Regions from separate parts of the Homo sapiens genome. Here region 1 is linked to region 2. Evidence: promoter capture Hi-C in 16 types of primary human blood cells and fetal thymus (Javierre and others, 2016). All regions are on one chromosome and are shown on one strand. Each heading gives the region's core, a stretch centred on a gene start or on the middle of the fragment in contact. The rest is flanking DNA. Distances are from core to core; before and after follow the strand shown.

Region 1 (3,890 bases), core at 1,391-3,890, 3.7 Mb before region 2:
CTTACTTTCCATCCCCTCTCAGGGTGGAAACTAGAATTGAGGGTATGTAGTTGACATATGCACAGAGACATAGGGAAATCCAAGAAAGTTGGAGATAGTGGTTTGCGTCCCTGGACATGTCTGTGAAACACTAAGACGTCTAGGAGTTCTACTTTCAGCCTGCCAGCATGTTCAATATGACATAAGGAGAAAAATGCAACATTGTTGGATAGTGGCTCAACAACTAGTAAGCCCAAAGCAAGGCTCCTGGCTCATCAAGGCCTACACGTGGTATTCGGGGAATCCAGAAGTACCCATGTGTCTCAGTGAGAACCATGAGGATCAAGGGACCTGTGGAGACTCGGGGTCAGTACAAAGAGGTTATAGTGTATGGGGCAAATGGCTCATGTATGGATTTCAGCAAAAGAAATCAGCCTCAAAAGTACAGAAATGACCAGTTTTATGAGTAATAAATGATAAACGACAGTGGCTGCCATCAGACAATACTAGCCACTCCACGCCAGAAGACAACATAAGGACTGGCATTAGTGGCTTAGATGCCCTTGTAAACCTCCCTATTCCTCAGGGATGCTACCACCCTACCAGTTACTCTGTGAATTTGAAAAAGGTGCTTCCTTTCTCAAGACACTTTACTACCATCTATCAGGAAATTGTCATAATATACTAATTTTGCTAAAACAAGGCATTTTACTGCCATATGTCAGAGAATTGTTGCAATAAACTTAGAAATCTAGGGTATGTAAAAGATACCCCTTATACCACATATAACAACCCTAAACCCCGCCCCTCCCATTAATATATTAGAAGGAGAGTTGGGGAAATAAAAGGTGAAAGCAGTTATGTTTTTTAAAAAATTGAGATGATGTGGGGACTTGAAGTTAAAATTACAGAAAATAAACAAGCTACATTTTCTTTACATCTGAATTAATGTAAGTAAAACTTCCACTCTGCCACACCAAAATACAAACTCTTTATGCCCAATATTTTCCTTTTATTAGTATTTCCCATAACACCTTATATACATATTAATGCATACACGGAAGGAGCCAAAAAGTACTTGTCAAATAAAAAAGTAAATTTTTAGAAAAATCAGAAATGATGGACACACTTATATGTATAACGTAATTTTCCTGTACTTTTACTTTTCCCCTATGTTTATTTGAACAAACCTAAAATTGTACCCATTTGCACCTAGCTAACCACCATAAAAATTTGGAGTTCTCCAGCTGTTTTGTAACAGCTGTCCTCCTCAAATATTTTTTTGAGAAACAAACATAGACCTACGTTTCTCTATTTTTCTGGACTAAAGAGAGATCATCTCAAAATCACAGAACTCTTAAAAATTGAAAACAGGATCATGTAGTCTAAAATAAGTTCTTATTTAAACTTGGGAGGTGAGGGGGGCGGGGCTGACATCTAGAAAGGTGAAGTACTTTGCCTGTAGTCACACACCAAGTCTGGGACTCAACACACAGGCTCGCCTCTTTGCGTCTCTCCCTCCTTCCAAAATACATTTTCCTCCCTCTCAAAAGCTTTATCACGCTTTGTAGTTGCTTAATTATCTATGTCAAACCTAGAGAGCAACTGATGACACTCAGAGACATCGCCCAAAGTTCTGAAAACCAGATAATCAGATAAACTGCCAGTTTTACCACATCCAAAAAATGCACAACAAAAGAGAGAAGGGGGAGAATCGAGAATACATTTTCAGCCGCAAGGCAATAAAAACACGTTTCCCTTGGAGAGAGATTATGTTGGGGGCATCAGGTATAAAGGTAATTCCTGTTGAGGGTTTTTCTTTTCCTTGCAGTTTGTGGGACCTAAAAAAAAAAAATTAAAAATTAAATCACATAAACAATCACAACATCAACACATTTACTTCTCTCCTCTCACATATTATTTTCCCACACATTGTATACACTTCTTCAAAGAACAAATCAAATTGGCCAAAGGTCAAAGCCTTTTCAAGGTTTAGATGATATACGATTAGGCACCGACTCCAAACTTCGCTTACCAAGCCCAAAGCTCGGAGACGGAAATCTTCAGGGTTTGCAAATACCCTCAGCTTGGCTAAAGGGCACGAAATCTCTAGCGCTCCCTACAGCTCAGATTTTGAACCCACCTACCACAGAAAACCCGAGTTACCAAAGATTGGCTCCCTCGTTCCACTTTTTTTTCAGCTCAAAAAAATCGGGTGAAGGTTGGGGTAGGGGGGAAGCTGAAACGGCGAACCGAAGGATTAATCACTTCTCCCCATTACATCAGCAACCCCCGCCCTTTCCTCCGAGCACCTCCTCTCCCAGAATCGTCGCTACGCACTGGCGCTCTCTTCGCCCACCCCCTGCTCTATTATTTGCCCTGATACCTCCCCATTATCACCCGCCCCGCCACACTCCCCCTTTCCTCTTTCCCCCTCCTAGGCGGGGGAGGGAGGAAACCCGAGAGAGGAAACAGGGCGTTGAAGGGACTTCGCGATAAGAGCGGAGGCCCCATTGGCCGGAAGGTTGTACGGGCGCCTTAGATTGGCCGCCTGGACGGAATCCCCGCCCCTCCTTTCCCCGCCCACCCACCCCTCCCCCCGCCGCCCCGCGGCCCTCCCCCGCGCCCCCGGCCAGCCCCGCGGCGGGGAGGGACCGACTGGGCGAGTGGAGGCTCCGGCGGTGTCAATGGCTCCTCCTGCCACGGAGCAGCAGCAGAAGCAGCGGCGACAGGGCTGACGAGGAGGAGGAGGAAAGGTTCCTTTAAGGAGGAGGAAGGACGACGCCTCTTTTTCCCCCTATCTCCTCCCTTCACACTCATTTCCCCTTCGCCGAGGAGAGAAGGGGGGGAGGAGAGAGAAGAGACCGAAGAAAGAGAGAAAAATTCCTCACAGAAATCTCTTTCAGGGGGTGTGGGGGGGAGGAAGAGGGAAAAAAAAGAGCCGGGCGCCCCCTGCTCCCTCCCTCCCTTCTCTCCCTCTCTTTTTCTCCCTTCCTCACCCGCCCGCCCACTCCCCCCGCTGCCGGAGACGCCGCTCGCGAGTCGGCGGGACCGGGATCTGTCTCTTCAGCCGCCGCCGCCGCCGCCGCCGCGCTTCGCCTCGGGATCCCCAAGCGGCGGACGCCCTTTCTTTCTTTCTCTCGGTCTGCCCGTCTTTCTGCCTTCGTCCCTCGCGGCCGCCCCGCCCGGCGGCTTCGGCCTTCCCCGTGCGTCAGGCCCTCCCGGCCGGCCTCGCTCGGTCTCCGTCTGTCTACCCGGGCCTTTCTCCGGACTCGGGGTCCCGCTCGCCCCCTCCGCCCTCAGCGTCTCCCCTTCCCCTCGCCCCCTCTCCTTCCTCCCCCCTCTCCCACTCTCCCCACCCCTTTCTCCTGCCCCGAAGCTCGCTGTGCGTGTGCGTGTGTGTGTCCCTCCGCCAACGCCGCCACCTCAGCCCGGCAAATGAACTCCGTCCGAGCCGCCAACCGGAGACCCAGGCGAGTGTCGCGGCCGCGCCCGGTGCAGCAACAGCAGCAGCAGCCCCCGCAGCAGCCGCCGCCGCAGCCGCCCCAGCAGCAGCCGCCCCAGCAGCAGCCTCCGCCGCCGCCGCAGCAGCAGCAGCAGCAGCAGCCTCCGCCGCCGCCACCGCCGCCTCCGCCGCTGCCTCAGGAGCGGAACAACGTCGGCGAGCGGGGTAAGGCCGCGCTACCTCCCAACCGCCCGCCTTCCCGGGCACCGCGGGAAGGGAGGCCGGGGCGGGCGGGCGGGCGGGCGGGCGGGGGCGGCCTGCGCGCCCTGGGGGTGGGAGACCCAAGCTGAGCGGAGGCGGGTCCCCCGGTGCCGCAGTGTCAGCCCGGGCCGGGCCCGGCCGGCAGGAAAAGCCGCGGCTTCCCTTCTCGCCTGGGCTCTCGCTCAGGCCGCGCTTTGTTTGGTTT
Region 2 (3,684 bases), core at 1,175-3,674:
AAGGAATTTAGTAATTAGGTGAATTACTAACATAAAACAGTATTTACTGACATGACTAAATTGAAAGGCCTTTCACCTATTCCTAGAGTCTTCACAGAAATCAGACACCCAGTGTAAGAAAACGGTGTTGAAAGCTCTGCTGGTCACTTCAAAGAGAACAATCACTTCAACAAATCCAGAGGATAATGTACTAGAAACTGGGGAAATCTTACAGTATGAAAGCTCAAATAAAAATACTCGTGCTAATATACAGCAACAAAAAGAACCACTGCAGAAACTGTTGTAAGACTTCATGAGAGCAAAAACAAATGAAGAGGCGAAAACACAACAACCATTAAGACAAAAAAAAAGACAAAGAAGGCATTGAGAGAAGAAGCACAAAATAAAGATTATCCCTGAAAATGTGTGGACTAAAATATTCTGTTCTAAATACTTAATTTTAAAATTTCGATTAGAACAACACACTGTCCATTTGGCAGACCTACAAAAACATTTCCTTAAAAAATTACCATTACTTCAACTATATTTTTAAAAGGCCTGTACACTTGGAAAAGACTATCATAATAATTAGAATAACTTGTCTCACTATTTACTTAGAAATGCCCCATTTAAAAGTAGGCCAACAATAGGAACTTTGCTATTGCACAACAGAGAAAGTAAATGAAATAACATCTATTAACATTCAGCGTCCATGGCATGTTTCTCCATCTCCTAGAACATACTGTGACTTACACTGTCTACTCTGAACAATTTACCACTTCTTCATCCATGCAGTAGCTCAAATAAAGACAGTTCCTGTGTTAATCCCACAGTAAGCCTCAGTAATTCTCACATCACCGTAGTTGTAAACGTTTGTTAACAGAAAAAGAATGTTTTTCCTAAAATAGCTACATAACACTAAGACTACTCAAATTCCTAAATAATCCTTTTACAACATGCCTGCCAACTTTATTTTGATACATTAAACATGTGGAGCCTATTTTAAAAGCTCTTTAACTGTGACTATCAAAACAACTTCCCAGTTATTAACGTCTCTTTTTAAAAAAGTTTTCAAGTTGTTCTTAGAAGAAATTGAATATTGATGAATTTGGGCTGCTATCAAACGCCTAAGAAGCACTTTTTTTGCCGAATAAGATGGGCAAACGTCCCAGATCTGCTAAATCTGATATGAGAGGTCATGCAAGTTTAAAAAATGAAGAAATAACTATTTCCAACACTCACTGAGTCCTTCATTTAAAAAATTATTTTCGGTGTTATTTTCACACTTTACGTTTAATAATACAATTTTTTCAAGGTTGTTAGGCTTAAACTATGAAAAACTGATTTACCACATATGGCTAGTCAGTCTATACTCTTAATGGGGCTCCGGTAGATTTGGGGTACTGACAATAAGTGGCAGTTTCAATTAAGAACTTCACTGTTAGGAATGACATCCGAAAAGGATGGTGCTAGGGAAGACAGGCAAGAGATGCCGGGGTACGAAGAAAAGAGAAACACACAATTTAAAGCCACTAAGGAGGGAAGGCGAGGGTAGAACGCATAGACAGCAGAGAAAGACGATTTAACAAGGAAGTGAAGTGGAGCGCAGAGTAGGGCAGAAGCTGATGAGGAAACGAATGGTAAAAGATAGTGTTTTCAAACAGGGCATGCACCAGGAAGAGAAGCGCCAAGGCTTGGGGTAGCCCCAGTGCTTTCGTGTGAAAGAGATGCTTGCAGACTGAAGCGGAGGGAAGAGAGAATCAGTCAGCTTCCAGGCGTTCCAGCAAACTCCCATTCTCTCCCTGCGCCTCTCCCAGACCTCAGCCCAGCGGAGGCGGCGGCCGGGGAAGGGGCCTATACCCGAGAGCCAGGCCCGGCGTTCCCCTGCCTAGGCTCCGCGGCAGCAGGGAAAGCAGCGAGGATTCGGAAGGACAGAGGCCCCGGCCGCGGCTCGGCAGCACCGCGAAAACCTGCCCAGGGCCCGGGGCCTCGGCGGCGCGGCCGGTCAGCCGCTTCCCCTCCGGCGGGGTGCCGGGCGGCCTTACCTGAGGCAAGGGAGGGAGAAGATGTCTAGGGCGCCTCGCTCGCGCCCGCCGCGGTACTCAGCCCAAGTTTCCAACGGAGGCGCGACCCTGACTCAGCCGCCGCTTCCCCCTCGGGGTCTCGACCGCCGCCTCCGGGGCTGTTTACACCGCCCGGCCCCTCACGCCGCCGCCGCCGCCGATGCCGCCTTCTCTCCACCCTAGCGCCGTTGCCGATTCGGCCGCCGCCACCTCCTCCGCCGCAGCCTCGTCTCTCTGGAGCATCTTCCAACCACCGAACCCTGAGAATCAGAGACTCCAGCCGCGCCGGCAGGAAACTCCCCCGCAACTGCTAGGGGAACGAGGCCGTCAGAGCACCGGCGGCTTTTCCGCCATTGAGCAGAAGCCGCTCGGCTCCTTTTGCAACCCCCTCCCCGCACCCTAGTCCTTCCCCGCCCCTCAGGGTGCCCCGCCTCCAGCTGCCACCCACTGGGATGCCGCGCGCCCTCTCACGGCCCCCGGTTTGCTGGGAGTCTTGTCAATCACCGCTCCCCCTCCCCGTGCTGCTCCCTCGGCACCTCCGTACTTCGTTTACCCCGCCCACCCGGCCCCGCCTCTGGGTTTCTAATTTCCCATTGGGCATCAGTGGCTACTTTCAATAGGCAAGGTCAGCTGTCCATCAAACACCGCCCACTAAGTGAGACCCAACCCTTTATTACCATTTACTTTATTCGGCCCCGCCTCCGCTAGGTCCTACCTCCCGAACGTCAGGGACCAGCCCCCGCTACCAGCCATAAGTAGAGCCCTCCGTCAATCAAATAACGCCCACCTGCGCTCCTCCTAGCAAAGCCCCGGCCCCAGCGATTGTCTTTTCTTATTGGTCCAACTCGTGATCCGAACCCCCAGTCACTGGCTTTCTTGCGGGTCAGTCACTGAGCCAATTTCCAAGTCCGTCACACCGGCTTTTTTCAAATGAACGCGCAAAAGGCGGGGAAGTATCTGGAAAGCGATTGGTTCGTCCTAGAAAACGGTCAAACCCGGAGAGTCTGTACGGATCCTTTCCGTTCTGTGAGGACCGTGCCCCCTTGTATTTGACCTCTAAGCCTCGCGTAAAAGAAGCGCCATAAGGGACCAACGAGCAGTCCAGCTATAGGTGTGGACGCCTGGTCCCACCCGGAATTGCAGGGGCTTGGCTACTGATTGGCTAAGAAAGTCCTCCTAGGCCCTCATTGGAGGATCTAAACGCCTCTCTTCGGCGTGGAGACGGGAAGGGACGACTCAGACGAGGACAAGAAGTGGGCAGGGGAGAGGCGGTTGTTTTGCTTCAGCCGCGGGTGGGGCGCAGGCGAGAGTGGGAAACTGGGAAGGCCGGGCTCTGGGGAGGTGTTGCGGGGAGGGGAAAGGCCCGGATGTTCCCTAACAATGAAATCATCGCCGACCTATCAGAGCCGCCGAGCTGGGATACCTGCCTGACCTGTACCCCGGAGGGAGAAGAGTGGGCGGGAAATTGGGGTGTCGGAAGAACCTGGAAAGCAACGTGAGAAAGTGGGACAGGTGTTCCCTTCAGGAGGATTTTGTGCTATTAGAGATTATTTTTATACCAGCCCTTGACATTTCCGTATTTTGTTTCTCAGTCGGCATTGATATTAAAACTCCCAGCCTAGTCTCTTGACATGGACTTGTT

What was found. The method cuts DNA at HindIII sites, captures the fragments that hold promoters and counts their contacts. A CHiCAGO score of 5 or more calls a contact.
Region 1: the fragment with the promoter of FBXO11 here is called in contact with the fragment with the promoter of PPM1B in region 2 in 1 of 17 cell types (fetal thymus); the score reaches 7.8 in fetal thymus.

The regions. Positions count from the first base shown.
Region 1 is chr2:47,905,248-47,909,137 of GRCh38, reverse strand. FBXO11 (F-box protein 11) reads left to right here and starts at 2,640. Exons shown (of 23, transcript NM_001190274.2): 1 at 2,640-3,649. The coding sequence starts at 3,418. It overlaps LOC100506235 (a long non-coding RNA gene), which reads right to left and starts at 3,588. Exons shown (of 2, transcript NR_187636.1): 1 at 3,339-3,588; 2 at 971-1,820. RefSeq lists an enhancer at 1,694-2,478 and silencers at 2,548-2,647, 3,138-3,327, 3,688-3,807, 3,818-3,867. The HindIII fragment of the contact is 3,894 bases long and covers 1,535-3,890 here.
Region 2 is chr2:44,167,615-44,171,298 of GRCh38, reverse strand. It overlaps PPM1B (protein phosphatase, Mg2+/Mn2+ dependent 1B), which reads right to left and starts at 2,424. Exons shown (of 6, transcript NM_002706.6): 1 at 2,025-2,424. It overlaps PPM1B-DT (PPM1B divergent transcript), which reads left to right and starts at 2,507. Exons shown (of 2, transcript XR_940034.3): 1 at 2,507-3,684. RefSeq lists silencers at 1,864-2,073, 2,394-2,723. The HindIII fragment of the contact is 4,313 bases long and covers 1-3,684 here.